Regions from separate parts of the Homo sapiens genome. Here regions 1, 3, 4 and 5 are each linked to region 2. The links are contacts of gene promoters, found by promoter capture Hi-C in blood cells and fetal thymus (Javierre and others, 2016). All regions are on one chromosome and are shown on one strand. Each heading gives the region's core, a stretch centred on a gene start or on the middle of the fragment in contact. The rest is flanking DNA. Distances are from core to core; before and after follow the strand shown.

Region 1 (2,700 bases), core at 118-2,617, 68 kb before region 2:
TCCATAGATTGCATCTTACCCCATTGTATCTTCAGAGAGAAGGTTTCTGTTGCCTCTGAAGCTACAGTTACTTGTTTGAGGTTCCACCTATAAATTTCACTTCCTACATCCTTCATTTAGAAGTGAAGTCTGTCTGTGAAGAAGCAATGGTAGAGACACACCACAAGTGCCTCTGATTCCCTGAGTGTCACCTGGTTATTCCAGTTACCTGTTGGGGAGAATAATAAAGCATAGGCTTATTGACCCATTGGTATAAGCCCTGCTAGTAACCTAACATCATTCTCATGGTAAAGGGAGACACAAGATAATCCTTTGACTCATGTTACCACTGTCCCTTTTTGAGGTTTCACTGGGCCAGTTTGCCAGATTGATATTGATGACTGTTCCAGTACTCCGTGTCTGAATGGGGCAAAGTGTATCGATCACCCGAATGGCTATGAATGCCAGTGTGCCACAGGTAAGATTCTTCTCACTTTTCATCTCCTTGGTAGGTCCATCTGAACAAAATAGGGTGATTGTCCCTGTCCTCTGCTAGCTGCTGTGCCAGGCCAGTCCACTCCCAGAGGCTCCTCTGTGTTTAGGAAGAGCTGTTTCTAACAAATTTTTTGCTGCTCTCTTTTTCTGCAGCACCTGCCTCCTCCACCACAACAGTGGTCTGGCCCAGATATTTCCATTTGGTATCCATGTCTTTCTGGGACAGATTTTGGCAGCAGTAAGTTTCCAGCTGGCTAGATTGACTCATTTAGGAAAGAGAAGAAATCCAGTTGAAAGCTATTTTTCACTGGGGCTTCTCAGCAGGAGGCCTGGCTCTGTGTTTCTTGAAGCAAGTGACTGAAAGAAGGCCCAGAAATTTAAAGGCTGAATGTGTACAAGTGCAGGGGTATTCTGCATAAAAGACACCAAAATAGGATTGAGAGTCAAGTGTGTAAATGACAGGAGAGAGAGCTCTCACTGGGAAAGTTTGGGTCCTCTTTGCTGACTTCTGCAACTAGAGTCAAAAACGATCTGTGCACAAATATTCTGCATTTCTGGGTTTGTAATCACATTTTGTACTTGGGATTGGATTTCAGTAAGCCAGATGTTCCCTATTACACATTTCCTTTTACACAGGCAAATATTATACAGAAAGGCTAGAAATTATTAGAAGTGAACTTCTTTATTATCTGACTGCTTGAGAAAGAAGTTATTTATGTAATTCAAGACATTAATTTTAGAGAATGGAGTCTTAAAGATTAAAGGCATCATGCATATAATTTATTTCTGATCACAGAAAAGCAAATTTAATTGTGAAAATTAATACAAAAAGTTAATATTTTAATTATTAGACCTACTTAGTTTAGGACAACTCAGATGAGCCACTTTCTTTCTTTTTGCAAATAGTTAATGCTTGTCAGAGAATCCAGATTTTGTCTTCCCCTGGCCAGATTCTTCTTGTAGAGGATAAGTTTCAAAGAGATTAAAAACCTTTAGCTCAGGTTTAAAAGTGGGGGGAGGACTCCTGGAGTCTTTTAGGGAAAGATATAATGTTTGTCTATTTACACCTCGAAGAAAGGAAATCTTACTTGTCTCTTTTTCTTTTAAATTCTCATAACAGGTTCATTCATTTTATTCAACCAGTATTTATTTAAAACTACTATATATGCATACTACTCTCAGAGGAGTTGAGAGAAGTAAAATAAAGCTCTCTTACCTCCAAAGTCAGAATTGGGGACATAAGATACATGAAATCATTAACCTGTATATTGGACTTGGGAAGAAAGAAATACAAAGATAAATATATAAAGGAAAAATATTTTGAGCTGTTATACCTGAAGCCTAGTAAGAAATGAAGGTGCAGTTAAAGCATCTCTGCAATGAAATTATTGATCAGTTGCGAAGGTATTTCAATTCTAAAATTTGATTTGGAAATCTTTATTTTAAGCACCTCTCTCCAGGCATACTTTCTAAATCAATGCAGATCGTCGTTTTCTACTGCTCAAGACCTGCAGTATTAATTGACCACACATCGAATGTGTAGAGTAAATGGATGTAGCTACACTTGTGTTCTGGTGTGGAATATCTGCCTTGGTCTTTGAGAATCCTTGATAAAATTCTTTCCAAAGGTTTCACTGGTGTGTTGTGTGAGGAGAACATTGACAACTGTGACCCCGATCCTTGCCACCATGGTCAGTGTCAGGATGGTATTGATTCCTACACCTGCATCTGCAATCCCGGGTACATGGGCGCCATCTGCAGTGACCAGATTGATGAATGTTACAGCAGCCCTTGCCTGAACGATGGTCGCTGCATTGACCTGGTCAATGGCTACCAGTGCAACTGCCAGCCAGGCACGTCAGGTAAGCCCACTCTGTTTATGTTTGGTATGGGGTTTTCACTGTTTCTCAAATCTGTTTACACAGATGTTTCAGACTGTTGGCATATGCTCAGATACCTAAAAAACAGTCCTGATTCTGAGAAGCACAGCCAAAGCCACAAACATAAATGTCTCAAGGCAAATGGCCCTAGCCAGTGGAGAAGTCAGAGACAATAGCTCTGCCAATCTGATGATTTTGTGTGTGTGTTTGTGTGTGTTTTGTTAAATAGAGGCATACCACTTCAAAAATTAAAATTAATGATTTAAAATTGAAAACCCTCTTTTTTGTGGCTATATTATCTTTTTTTCTTTAAGTTCCACCCCACCCAGATTAATAAATTCAGTCC
Region 2 (2,700 bases), core at 9-2,508:
AGTCCAGCAGAGTCTAAGTGGTTTTAAATCTCTTGGAGCTGTCAACTTTTGTCCTTCCCTAAAGAGACAACAGAGTTGACTAGTAAAGAACACAGGCTCCGGGTAGAGTTGCCTAAATGTTCACAGGGATTGCTTCAGCTGACGCCACCTTCTGAACCATGGTACGGTTTTCATGTCCTCATGTGCAAAGTATGGGTGATAATAGTAGTACCTATAACCTAGGGTCATGGTGAAGATTTAATGGGCTGATTTATGCAGAGCATAGCGGGGTGTGTAGCATGAAACGAGCCAGTCTTCCATAAGTACTGCTTATTATCAGCCCTAAGGCCATGCTTTCTGCCAACAGACAACATTGCTTGGTACAAGAGCTTTTAACTAGTCTCCCTGACTCAAGCCTGTTCCTTTTTAACCTTTCCTTGTAATTCAGCCAGATGGAATCTCCCAGGAACAAAACTGAAAATATTCCTCTCTTATCAGAATCCCTCAGAATCACCTCATGACCTTCCGATTTGCCCTTTTACGGACGATAAACCCTTCCATTTTCTGAGCCAGAGGCTTCTTCCTTTGTGGAGTCAGCCTCATCGCTCGACTAGGAACATAACCAGCTATCTACCTTTCTCAGAAAGCACTTGGGTTTGCTCTTATAACAGGCACTTTTTCTAGGTTCTTCCCACCATTGCACATGGACACACAAAAATTACACTGACCCCTGGCACCCCAAAGACAAACAGCAGAAAGCACTCCCAGGCAAAATGAGCTCAGGACCTTTCTGTTGCCTGGGCCCACAACTAAGGTTCAGGGCCTTCTCTAAAAAGAAGCCGCAGCCGAAGACAGAGGAACTGCCCAGAGTGGGGCTGGGGGTGTGGAGTCTACGCTGATACTTTCAGGCTGTTTCCACTCTTGCTGGTTCTGATGCTCCTTTCTTTTGCCACAAGCAACCCTAGTGGAAAACTGGGAAATGTCCAACAATGAAGTTAGGACAGTGGCCCATAAAACATCGGATTCCAACCTGTGTCCTAAGGTGTAAAGACACAGAGTAAAGGCAAAGATACAGTGAGCCTTTAACACGTTCTCCTTTGTTCTTCCTATTTCTCTATTCCTTCTCCATTTCCGATGGTGTTCTCTACCCTCTCTCCAACCCACGTGCCAACAGCCCCTCTTTTCTCTTTTATTCTCGCCCACGTTTCCCTCCTTTCTTCCACCTGCGCCCAACGGTACGGCCCGGAAAACGAACTGGATGCGTTGGACAGGTCACGCGCGCATTGCGGACGCCAGCTAGACCGAGCCCTGGGAGGCTACGGGCTCCCCCGGAAACCCTGCCAGGGGAGCCGGGTTTTGAGCTCAGGCGCCTCTAGCGGCGGCCCCCAGAAATCTGACTCGCGAGGCCAGAGTTGCAGGGACTGAATAGCAAACTGAGGCTGAGTAGGGAACAGACCATGAGGTCAGTGCAGATCTTCCTCTCCCAATGCCGTTTGCTCCTTCTACTAGTTCCGACAATGCTCCTTAAGTCTCTTGGCGAAGATGTAATTTTTCACCCTGAAGGGGAGTTTGACTCGTATGAAGTCACCATTCCTGAGAAGCTGAGCTTCCGGGGAGAGGTGCAGGGTGTGGTCAGTCCCGTGTCCTACCTACTGCAGTTAAAAGGCAAGAAGCACGTCCTCCATTTGTGGCCCAAGAGACTTCTGTTGCCCCGACATCTGCGCGTTTTCTCCTTCACAGAACATGGGGAACTGCTGGAGGATCATCCTTACATACCAAAGGACTGCAACTACATGGGCTCCGTGAAAGAGTCTCTGGACTCTAAAGCTACTATAAGCACATGCATGGGGGGTCTCCGAGGTGTATTTAACATTGATGCCAAACATTACCAAATTGAGCCCCTCAAGGCCTCTCCCAGTTTTGAACATGTCGTCTATCTCCTGAAGAAAGAGCAGTTTGGGAATCAGGTTTGTGGCTTAAGTGATGATGAAATAGAATGGCAGATGGCCCCTTATGAGAATAAGGCGAGGCTAAGGGACTTTCCTGGATCCTATAAACACCCAAAGTACTTGGAATTGATCCTACTCTTTGATCAAAGTAGGTATAGGTTTGTGAACAACAATCTTTCTCAAGTCATACATGATGCCATTCTTTTGACTGGGATTATGGACACCTACTTTCAAGATGTTCGTATGAGGATACACTTAAAGGCTCTTGAAGTATGGACAGATTTTAACAAAATACGCGTTGGATATCCAGAGTTAGCTGAAGTTTTAGGCAGATTTGTAATATATAAAAAAAGTGTATTAAATGCTCGCCTGTCATCAGATTGGGCACATTTATATCTTCAAAGAAAATATAATGATGCTCTTGCATGGTCGTTTGGAAAAGTGTGTTCTCTAGAATATGCTGGATCAGTGAGTACTTTACTAGATACAAATATCCTTGCCCCTGCTACCTGGTCTGCTCATGAGCTGGGTCATGCTGTAGGAATGTCACATGATGAACAATACTGCCAATGTAGGGGTAGGCTTAATTGCATCATGGGCTCAGGACGCACTGGGTTTAGCAATTGCAGTTATATCTCTTTTTTTAAACATATCTCTTCGGGAGCAACATGTCTAAATAATATCCCAGGACTAGGTTATGTGCTTAAGAGATGTGGAAACAAAATTGTGGAGGACAATGAGGAATGTGACTGTGGTTCCACAGAGGAGTGTC
Region 3 (2,700 bases), core at 21-2,520, 110 kb after region 2:
CAACTAAACTTGGCTTACGAAACAAGTCTGGAATGCCTTGCTGTGGTTCAGGTTCTTTTGGGGTTTGACAGTCAGTTTGTGGCTGAAATATTACTTTACTTTTCTTTATTTAAAGATGAAGTGGTGCAAGGCCTTTGTTCTTTGAGAGCCCTGCAACACTTGGCCTCTACTCCACACCCTGTTCCAGAGGAAGTCAGCTTATGTTCTCTCCCATTATCTCAGTTACTGTACAACTCGATGTCAATGAACTTTAACATAAATGCAAAATGCAGCATGAAAATCCCAATGCATTTCTCAGAAAGTAATCAAGCACGTTATCTAGAAAACTCTGTTTTTAAATACACATTATTATCCAAATGAAAATAAACTTTCAATAAAACAAAGGGGGCAGGTGGAAACTTTTGGAGGTGAAGGCTAAGTTTATTGAGTTGATGTGATAATGGTTTCACAGGTGTACACTTTTCTCCAAACACATTAAGTTGTATGCATTAAATATCTACAGCTTTTTAATATCAATAATACCTCAACAAAGTGATTTAAAAAAAATACAGGCTGGGCGTGGTGGTGTGCACATGCAATCCCAGCATTTTGGGAGGCTCAGGTGGGACGCTCACTAGAGCCCAGGAGCTGGAGGCTGCAGTGAGCTATGATCACAATGCTGCACCAGCTTGGGTGACAGGTAAGACCTTGTCTGTAGTCTCTAAAAAAAAAAAAGAAAAAAAGAAAAGAAAGAAAATACATTTTAAGATTTTTTTTCAGTTAGAAAGAATAAATAATACCTAGTATTTGATAGCATAACAGGGGGACTACAGTTGATTATGATTTAATTGCACATTTAAAAATAACTAAAATAATGTAATTGGATTGTTTGTAACACAAAGGATAAATGCTTGAGGGGGGTAGATATCCAATTTTGCATGATGTAATTATTATGCATTGTATGCCTGTACCAAAATATCTCACATACCCCGTAAATATATACACCTAACTATATACTCACAAAATTTTTTTAAAAAAATAAATATTTTTCCAGAGAACCAGTAGCAAAGCAAACTGCCCAACTGTAGGGAGACCCCTGATGTGCTTCCCCCTGCAGAGAGCCTATGAATGGACGTGCAGTCAGGAAAGTTTCACATCACCAAGATTCCTATCCCAGGAAAGCAGATGTTCATAGCTCTGGGAATGGAATGCAACCCTTGTGGAGAGCCTATAAACGAACGCATGGGAGGCAGCTGTCCATATGGATAAGACAGGGCTATAAACGCCCTCATCTTGCCATGGCTCTTCTAGGCCTCTTTAGGGTTAAGGCATACTCCCTTCTGAGAATTTCTGGTCTAACCAGTTGTCTAGCTTCACATCCTGTTTCCATGGGTTGTTTGTAACCAGCTTTTGTGGCAATTGTTACTGCTGACTAATATCTTGCTAATCATAGGTTATGGAAAGACTGTGTTTCTGTTTTAAGGCTCTGTTAGAAATTACTGATGCACACACTATGTTGTAAATTCTTATCTCTGTATACTGTACTTCTGCATACAAATGTACTGTACTTCTACATACAAATGTTATGTTAAAGAATTACTTCATCCCCATGTGACCATCTCACCTCATAATCAAATAACCCTAAATCCCTCACTAACCTACCCCCGCCCTCACTAAACTTAATAATAAATGCTGGTATATCCAGTGTATTGTTGGCACCACAGGACCAGAAGGCGGTGACCCCCCTGGACCCAGCTTTCACTATCTTGTGTGTGTCTATTATTTCTCAACCTGCCGATCTGCCTGGGAACAAAGAGAAAGCCCCGTTGCATTGCGGGCTGCTGGCCAGATCCCGCAATACCCAACATATTTCTACAGAGCACAAGGGGTGCACAGGCTCCAGTTTCAGGTGTTTAGGTTCATGAGGCAAGTCTTTATATTCTCTTTCTTTATGTCAGAGGACAAGGAAAAAGCATGGATTTTTGTTGTCATATGCACTCGGGTTACAATCCCAGGCCTGGCAACTAATAGCTCTGTGACTTTAAACAGCTCACTAACCTCTTTGAGGCTGTTTTCCCACCTAAAAAATGGAGGGTGGGGGCATGGGGGGAATGACTTTTTTATGATTGTGGAACAGATGACATGAAATTGTGTGTCAACACAGGTATTAAATTAGGAGCACAGTGACATGTGTCCCTAGACCCATGTAGTGAGTCTGCCCTTTCAAGAAATAACACATTTGAATGGCTGCTGTCAATCAATGGCAACTAGGTATTGTCCCAGGCAGTCATTGTCCCGGGATAAGGATTTAACAGAAAGTTTTGAGGCTTGATTAAAATTTCCTGAGAGTCACAGTAAACAAAGTTGTCACAGGGAGAGATGGATCATCTGCCTAAGCAGCTCCAGAGCAGGAGAAGCACTCTGCGCTCTGTAGAATGGGAGGGTATGGTGCCGTCAGCTCAGCCCATGGCTGATTCTGCAAACTACTGGGAACAAGCTCTCCCAGCCCAATGGCTGGGCTTCAGGGAATACTGGCTGAGCGTGAGAGGGGGACCTGAAGGGGCGATGGGCTTAGATCCCAAGCATGGAAACACCTTGACAAGATGTCTCCCTCCTGTGTCAGTGAACAAAGCCATCAAGTGAATGTACCTGACCAGACTCCGATAATCAGAATCAAGAGTGACAGCAGCAGTAGTCCAGCACTAGAGAGAGCAGCCCGCT
Region 4 (2,700 bases), core at 106-2,605, 91 kb before region 2:
ATTCTGTAGGGGTGGGCTTCAATGGCTCATCATTTTCTGGCTCATTGGTCTATTTGTAAGACTCATATTTCTGTATGAATAATATGAAATATGAGTAATATGATACATTTTTGAAATTTGAGTAAATTTTCATAGTCTTTTTCAGGCTTCTTCAGTGATTCATCTGCTTGAATGGACTGAGTACCAAATACTTGGAGAAATATAATTTCCTTCAATAAAGCCTTCAGTGATTTCTGTCTTCCATGGAGTGATTTTTGGCTAATGTTTTTGGTCACTCAGTTTATACTTATTTATATGACTGCCATTGTATTTAGAGAAATCAGCCATGTTCCAGTGTAGCAGAGCAGATGTAGAATGCCACAGTAACTTATGGTAAGGAATAAAGCAAAGTGTGATTGATGTGTGTCCCACTCACAAGGCTGTAAATGCCACAAAAGCAGGGACTCACTGCTGTATCACCAGTGCCTAATGTAAGTCCCAGTAAGTATTTTGAGTGAGAGAGAGGAACCTTAAGGGATATTTCGAGGAAGCCAAATATGTAATCATACTATATTTCAAATAGGAGAATGTTTAGAATAGAAGCTGGTAGTCTTCTATTTAATTAGCTCAGGAGTTTGGTAGCAAGGAAAGAGAAAGTAAGAGGCCCAACATATAAACTACAAAGGACCACACTGTGGGCAGTTAGAGTGAAGTTTGGTGTACTAGTTTCATTTTTCATAAAAGAAAAAGTCAAGAGGAAGGAAGCAATGCTGTAAGTTTAGAGAAGAGCCTGATGAATTTGAAGTGCTGGTAAGCTTAGTTAGTAATAATGCCACCCAATTTTCAGATACCTTTTAACATTTGTATAGCACTTTACTCATGATGTGGCACTTATAATTAGAAAGACAGGATAGGCAAGTGGAATTAGCCTCATTTTTTACAGGTGAGGAAGTTGATGCAGAACTTTAGCTTACCATGTACGAATAGCTTGCAGGTGGTGAGATTGGGACTTGATCCATATCTTCATACTTTAAGTTCAATATTTTTCCTATATCCTCCCCCACTCCCTTCCCCACCTGGCTTGGAGGCCGCCTAGCAATCATTCAAAGAAAAAAAATAAAAGGAACTTAAATTTAATTAGGTAATATTTTATCTGTTCTTCCCATTAGTCTGGTATGGAGCTGGGGAAAATCCAATACCCTGTTTTTTTAGAACCCTTGAATATCTCTGTCCCAAGTAGACATTTATCATCCCTGGGATTTTATTTCATGAAAACATTTTGAAATACTTGTGAGGTAACTATGAAGGCATGCCATTGGCACAATGAGTCACTTTCACTGTCTAGCTATGCTTGAGGCCAGAGAAGACAGAGAATTGGGGATTTTTCATATGGTGAGTCCTGGGTGAGCAGCTGTTGAACTGAAGTCATGAAGCGGGTCTATTCTAATAACCATGTTCTGTGGGAACAGAGCAGGTCGTTTCTTCTGTATGAGATTTCATCATTTTCATTTGTTCTTCATTTACCAGGTTTTGAAGGGAGCACCTGTGAGAGGAATATTGATGACTGCCCTAACCACAGGTGTCAGAATGGAGGGGTTTGTGTGGATGGGGTCAACACTTACAACTGCCGCTGTCCCCCACAATGGACAGGTATGTACAGTGTGGAGAATCCACCAGAATGGGATATGGATTGGTAACCAGAGGCAGACTGTTTTTTTAAAATATCAGTAACAAATATCTTAGGCCTGCTCTGGAACCAGTATGTGAACTGAGCAGGATCTCCATGCTAGATCATTGCTTATTGTACTAACCTCATACATTTTCCTATGTTCACTCAAAGACATATTTTCACAGGTATTATTGGGCAGCAACTCTGAACCCAGCACCATGCTAGATGCTGTGGCAGATATGAGAGAAGAGCACTACTGTAAGCTTATTATCTGGGAAAAGCAGGACATTACCTGGAACATAGTAGATGCTTAATAAATATTAAAGAGGAAAAATTTCCTGAAATGCTAAAATAAATTGTACAGGCTACCAGAGTTCAGAGCCTATTTGTTCACGGACAGAGATCTGTCCCATCTTAATGTCATGTTCTATAACTAGGCAAAGTGTTAGGCAGGTACTCTTAATGACATTATTTTTATGATACGCATCCTACATTTGTTTTTTTCTTCTATCCCTTTTTGTACACGAACAAAAATAGTTTTTTCTGCCTCTAACATTAGAAGGGTAGTCTTGCTTAATTTTACAGCCTCTTGGAAGTTTCTCATGTAGTCTTAGGCAGGTTGAGTGATTTACGCAGACATTTGGTTCTAATTTCTCTTTATGTCTGTTTATCTACTGAAAGTAGAGACAATTAAGAACTGATTAAGGGACTAAGAGCTGGGCCTTTTTGAGAGAAATTAATTTAATGTGGAAACCCAACAGGAAGTTAGTATTATAAGAAAAAATTACAGTACCAGTAGTGGGCTATCTCCTACAAAGAATCTTAATGTTGAAGTGCAGCCATTACTACCTGGTATTCTTTAGTGTCTCTGAATTACTTTTCCTTATCTGTAGCATCTAATTATTTACAATACTCTTTAGAGCTGTAGACTATGAATAGAAAAAGATGAAAAGCATTTAAAAACTCAATCACAGGACTTACTGGGGAGGCCAAACATTTCTGCTTTTAATTCCCAAACTGTCCCTTTTAATACTTTCCCACCAGGTTTTCCT
Region 5 (2,747 bases), core at 66-2,565, 66 kb after region 2:
AGTTTCAATTTACATTTAGTTCTATAATCAATTTTGAGTTAGTTTTAGTGCAAGTATGGATGTTTAAGTGGATTTTTTTCTTTGTTTATTGTTTTTTACTTCCACTTTTATTTTAAGTTCAGGGGTACATGTGCTGGATGTGCAGGTTTGCCACATAGGTAAATGTGTGCCATGGTGGTTTGCTGCACAGATCATCTCATCACCTAGGTATCAAGCCCAGCATCCATTAGTTACTCTTCCTGATGCTCTCCCTCCTCCCACTTCCCACCCTCCGACAGGGCCAAGTGTGTGTTGTCTCCACCCCAACCCTATCTGTCCTTGTGTTCTTATCATTCAGCTCCCACTTACAAGCGAGAATATGCAGGGTTTTGTTTTCTGTTCCTGTGTTAGTTTGCTGAGGATAATGGCTTCCAACTCCCTCCATGTCCCTGCAAAGGACATGATCTTATTCCTTTTTATGGCTGCATAGTATTCCATGTGTATATATTCCACATTTTCTTTATCTAATCTATCATTAATGGGCATTTAGGTTGATTCCATATCTTTGCCGCAGTGAACATATGCATGCATATATCTTTATAACAGCATAATTTATATTCCTTTGGATATATACCCAGTAATGGGATTGCTGGGTCAAATGGTATTTCTGCCTCTAGGTCTTAAAGGAATCACTACACTGTCTTCCACAATGGTTGACAGTTACACTCCCACCAACAGTGTAAAAGCATTCTTTTTTCTCCACAACCTCGCCAGCATCTGTGAATTTTTTTCTATTTTTGCCTATGGATGTCTAGTTTTCGCAACACAATTTGTTGACAAGACTATGCTTTCTCTCCTGAATTGTTTTGAACCATTGTCCATCCTTTGGAGGGATGAGACTAGAGAGAGGACTGTCCTGATCATTGGAGGAACAGGGCCTGAAGTAGTGCAGGTCTTATGGAAAAGAAAAGGAACACATATTTTTTCAATGAGGCAGAGGAAAGCCCCAAGCACAAGTGGGGGACTCCCTACCCCCATGTGTGGCACATTTGCCTCTGCTCTGCCTCTCCTGCTGCAAAAGCTTGGGTGTGCATAGACACTGAGGCCGAGTTGTGCCACTGGGCACATTTGGGCATTGACATCAAATGTGTGACATCAAATCCCAGTATATCAAACAGGCAAAGTGGCAGGAAAACAGGAGACATAATGAAGAATGAAATAATTCAGTTGAAAACGACACACATGTTAGAAATAGCAGGCAATAACATTAGAGCAGTTATTATAATTTTAATTAAATGAAGATGTGGGAGATATTTTTAAAATATCAAATTCCATAAGTGAAAACTACATTTTACTGTCTGAAATTTTAAAAAATGCACTGGATTGAACATTGCAGAGGAAAAGATTAATGAATTAAAGGAAACAGCAATAGCAATGAACACAAATGAAACACACAGGAAAAAATGAATTTAAGAAATAAAAAGCCCATCAGTGGGAAAATTTTAAACACTCTACTAAATGGAATCCCTGAAGGGAATGGAGTGGATAAGGGCGATAGAAAAATATTTAAAACATACTGGATGAAAGCTTTCAAAGCTTCATGAAAACCATAAACTCCAAATAACCCAGAAACGTAATGTATTCTAATATCCCAAAGTCTGTGCTCTTTTCAGAAAAGGAAGTTTAGCATAAAGCACTAAACCAGGAGTCAACATATTGTATTTCCAGCTGTTGTTCCAACAGCTGTATTATAAAGGGCCAGTTCATTTCATGCATTTTTAATTTGATCTAAAGTGCCAGGTGGCATTGGGGCTGGCACAGCCTTGCTCAATTATGTGTTGAAGAGTAAACAGAGACTGCTAGGCTGAGGGAAGATGCAAAAGAATAGAAGAGATGCTCACAGGGAGCAAGACAACACACGGCCCCAGAGTCAGAGGCAGCATTAGTCACTGTCGGCTGCTCGTTTTCCCAGAGTCCGCAAGCCTCAGCTATGCTTTGCTTCTGCAAGAGGCCTCTTCACCTTTTCAATAAACCTGCCTGAATTTAAGGTGATGGGGGTTTATTTCTCCTTCATTATAAATGAAATTCTTCACCACAACAATCCCCAGTGAATTGTGGGCACAGAAGGCAGGCCCATCCCTGCTTCTGTTCCACTATCTCCCCTGTAGGACAAAAAGGAGGAGGTACTGACTTACCTCCAAATGCTCCTCTGGCTCTGATATCCTGTTATTCTAGTTTCTTTTCAGCTACTTTGTTTTTGGAAGCATGTATCCTAAGGCGTCCAGTTGAACAACCTTTGTCTACTGTGTCCAGGCATTCCTGGTGGTATTTCAGATAAGACACTCTTGGGTTGCTGCACTCACAACCACTGAACCAATTCTATGACCATCTGTTTCATGGCCACATGTTTGCTCATTTTATATGTACACAAAGGGAGGAGACAGTCAGCAAACTTGCATGTTATAAATTGTATCATCTTAGAAAGGAAACAAGGCAAGACTTTGCAATAAAACCTTAAGATTCATTAATTTTAATCCTAATGCAATAAAGAATGCTCATAAAATTCTTATCTAAAGAATGTTTAGAAAACCAAGGGACATCATCATTTAAAGTGATATGAAGAAAACTTCTCAGCTAAGCATATGGGCTAGATTAGACAGAAAAATAAAGAACCCATCTCTGCCCTGGAAAAACTACTGGTAGCATCTTTCAGAAAGCTCTCTGTGTTCGAGTATGCACCTTGATCCATAGGCTCACATTTGATCCCA

The links. Contacts are between HindIII fragments. The CHiCAGO score rates a contact against its expected background, and 5 or more counts as called.
Region 1: a fragment that was not itself captured here is called in contact with the fragment with the promoter of ADAM30 in region 2 in 8 of 17 cell types (erythroblasts, neutrophils, monocytes and 5 more); the score reaches 11.7 in erythroblasts.
Region 3: a contact is called between a fragment that was not itself captured here and the fragment with the promoter of ADAM30 in region 2, in 4 of 17 cell types (M0 macrophages, M2 macrophages, M1 macrophages and 1 more). The highest score is 11.8, in M0 macrophages.
Region 4: a contact is called between a fragment that was not itself captured here and the fragment with the promoter of ADAM30 in region 2, in 9 of 17 cell types (monocytes, M0 macrophages, erythroblasts and 6 more). The highest score is 12.9, in monocytes.
Region 5: a contact is called between a fragment that was not itself captured here and the fragment with the promoter of ADAM30 in region 2, in 3 of 17 cell types (M0 macrophages, M1 macrophages and M2 macrophages). The highest score is 6.8, in M0 macrophages.

The regions. Positions count from the first base shown.
Region 1 is chr1:119,963,210-119,965,909 of GRCh38, reverse strand. It overlaps NOTCH2 (notch receptor 2), which reads left to right. Exons shown (of 34, transcript NM_024408.4): 10 at 344-457; 11 at 2,103-2,336. Among named protein-coding and RNA genes, the nearest start is that of ADAM30, 68 kb to the right of the region's middle. The HindIII fragment of the contact is 8,628 bases long and covers 1-2,700 here.
Region 2 is chr1:119,895,073-119,897,772 of GRCh38, reverse strand. It overlaps ADAM30 (ADAM metallopeptidase domain 30), which reads left to right and starts at 1,258. Exons shown (of 1, transcript NM_021794.4): 1 at 1,258-2,700. The coding sequence starts at 1,437. The HindIII fragment of the contact is 9,342 bases long and covers 1-2,700 here.
Region 3 is chr1:119,785,360-119,788,059 of GRCh38, reverse strand. No RefSeq gene overlaps it. Among named protein-coding and RNA genes, the nearest start is that of HMGCS2, 18 kb to the right of the region's middle. The HindIII fragment of the contact is 4,371 bases long and covers 1-2,700 here.
Region 4 is chr1:119,985,889-119,988,588 of GRCh38, reverse strand. It overlaps NOTCH2 (notch receptor 2), which reads left to right. Exons shown (of 34, transcript NM_024408.4): 5 at 1,507-1,629. Among named protein-coding and RNA genes, the nearest start is that of NOTCH2, 82 kb to the left of the region's middle. The HindIII fragment of the contact is 1,117 bases long and covers 797-1,913 here.
Region 5 is chr1:119,828,924-119,831,670 of GRCh38, reverse strand. No RefSeq gene overlaps it. Among named protein-coding and RNA genes, the nearest start is that of REG4, 19 kb to the right of the region's middle. RefSeq lists a silencer at 199-399. The HindIII fragment of the contact is 506 bases long and covers 1,063-1,568 here.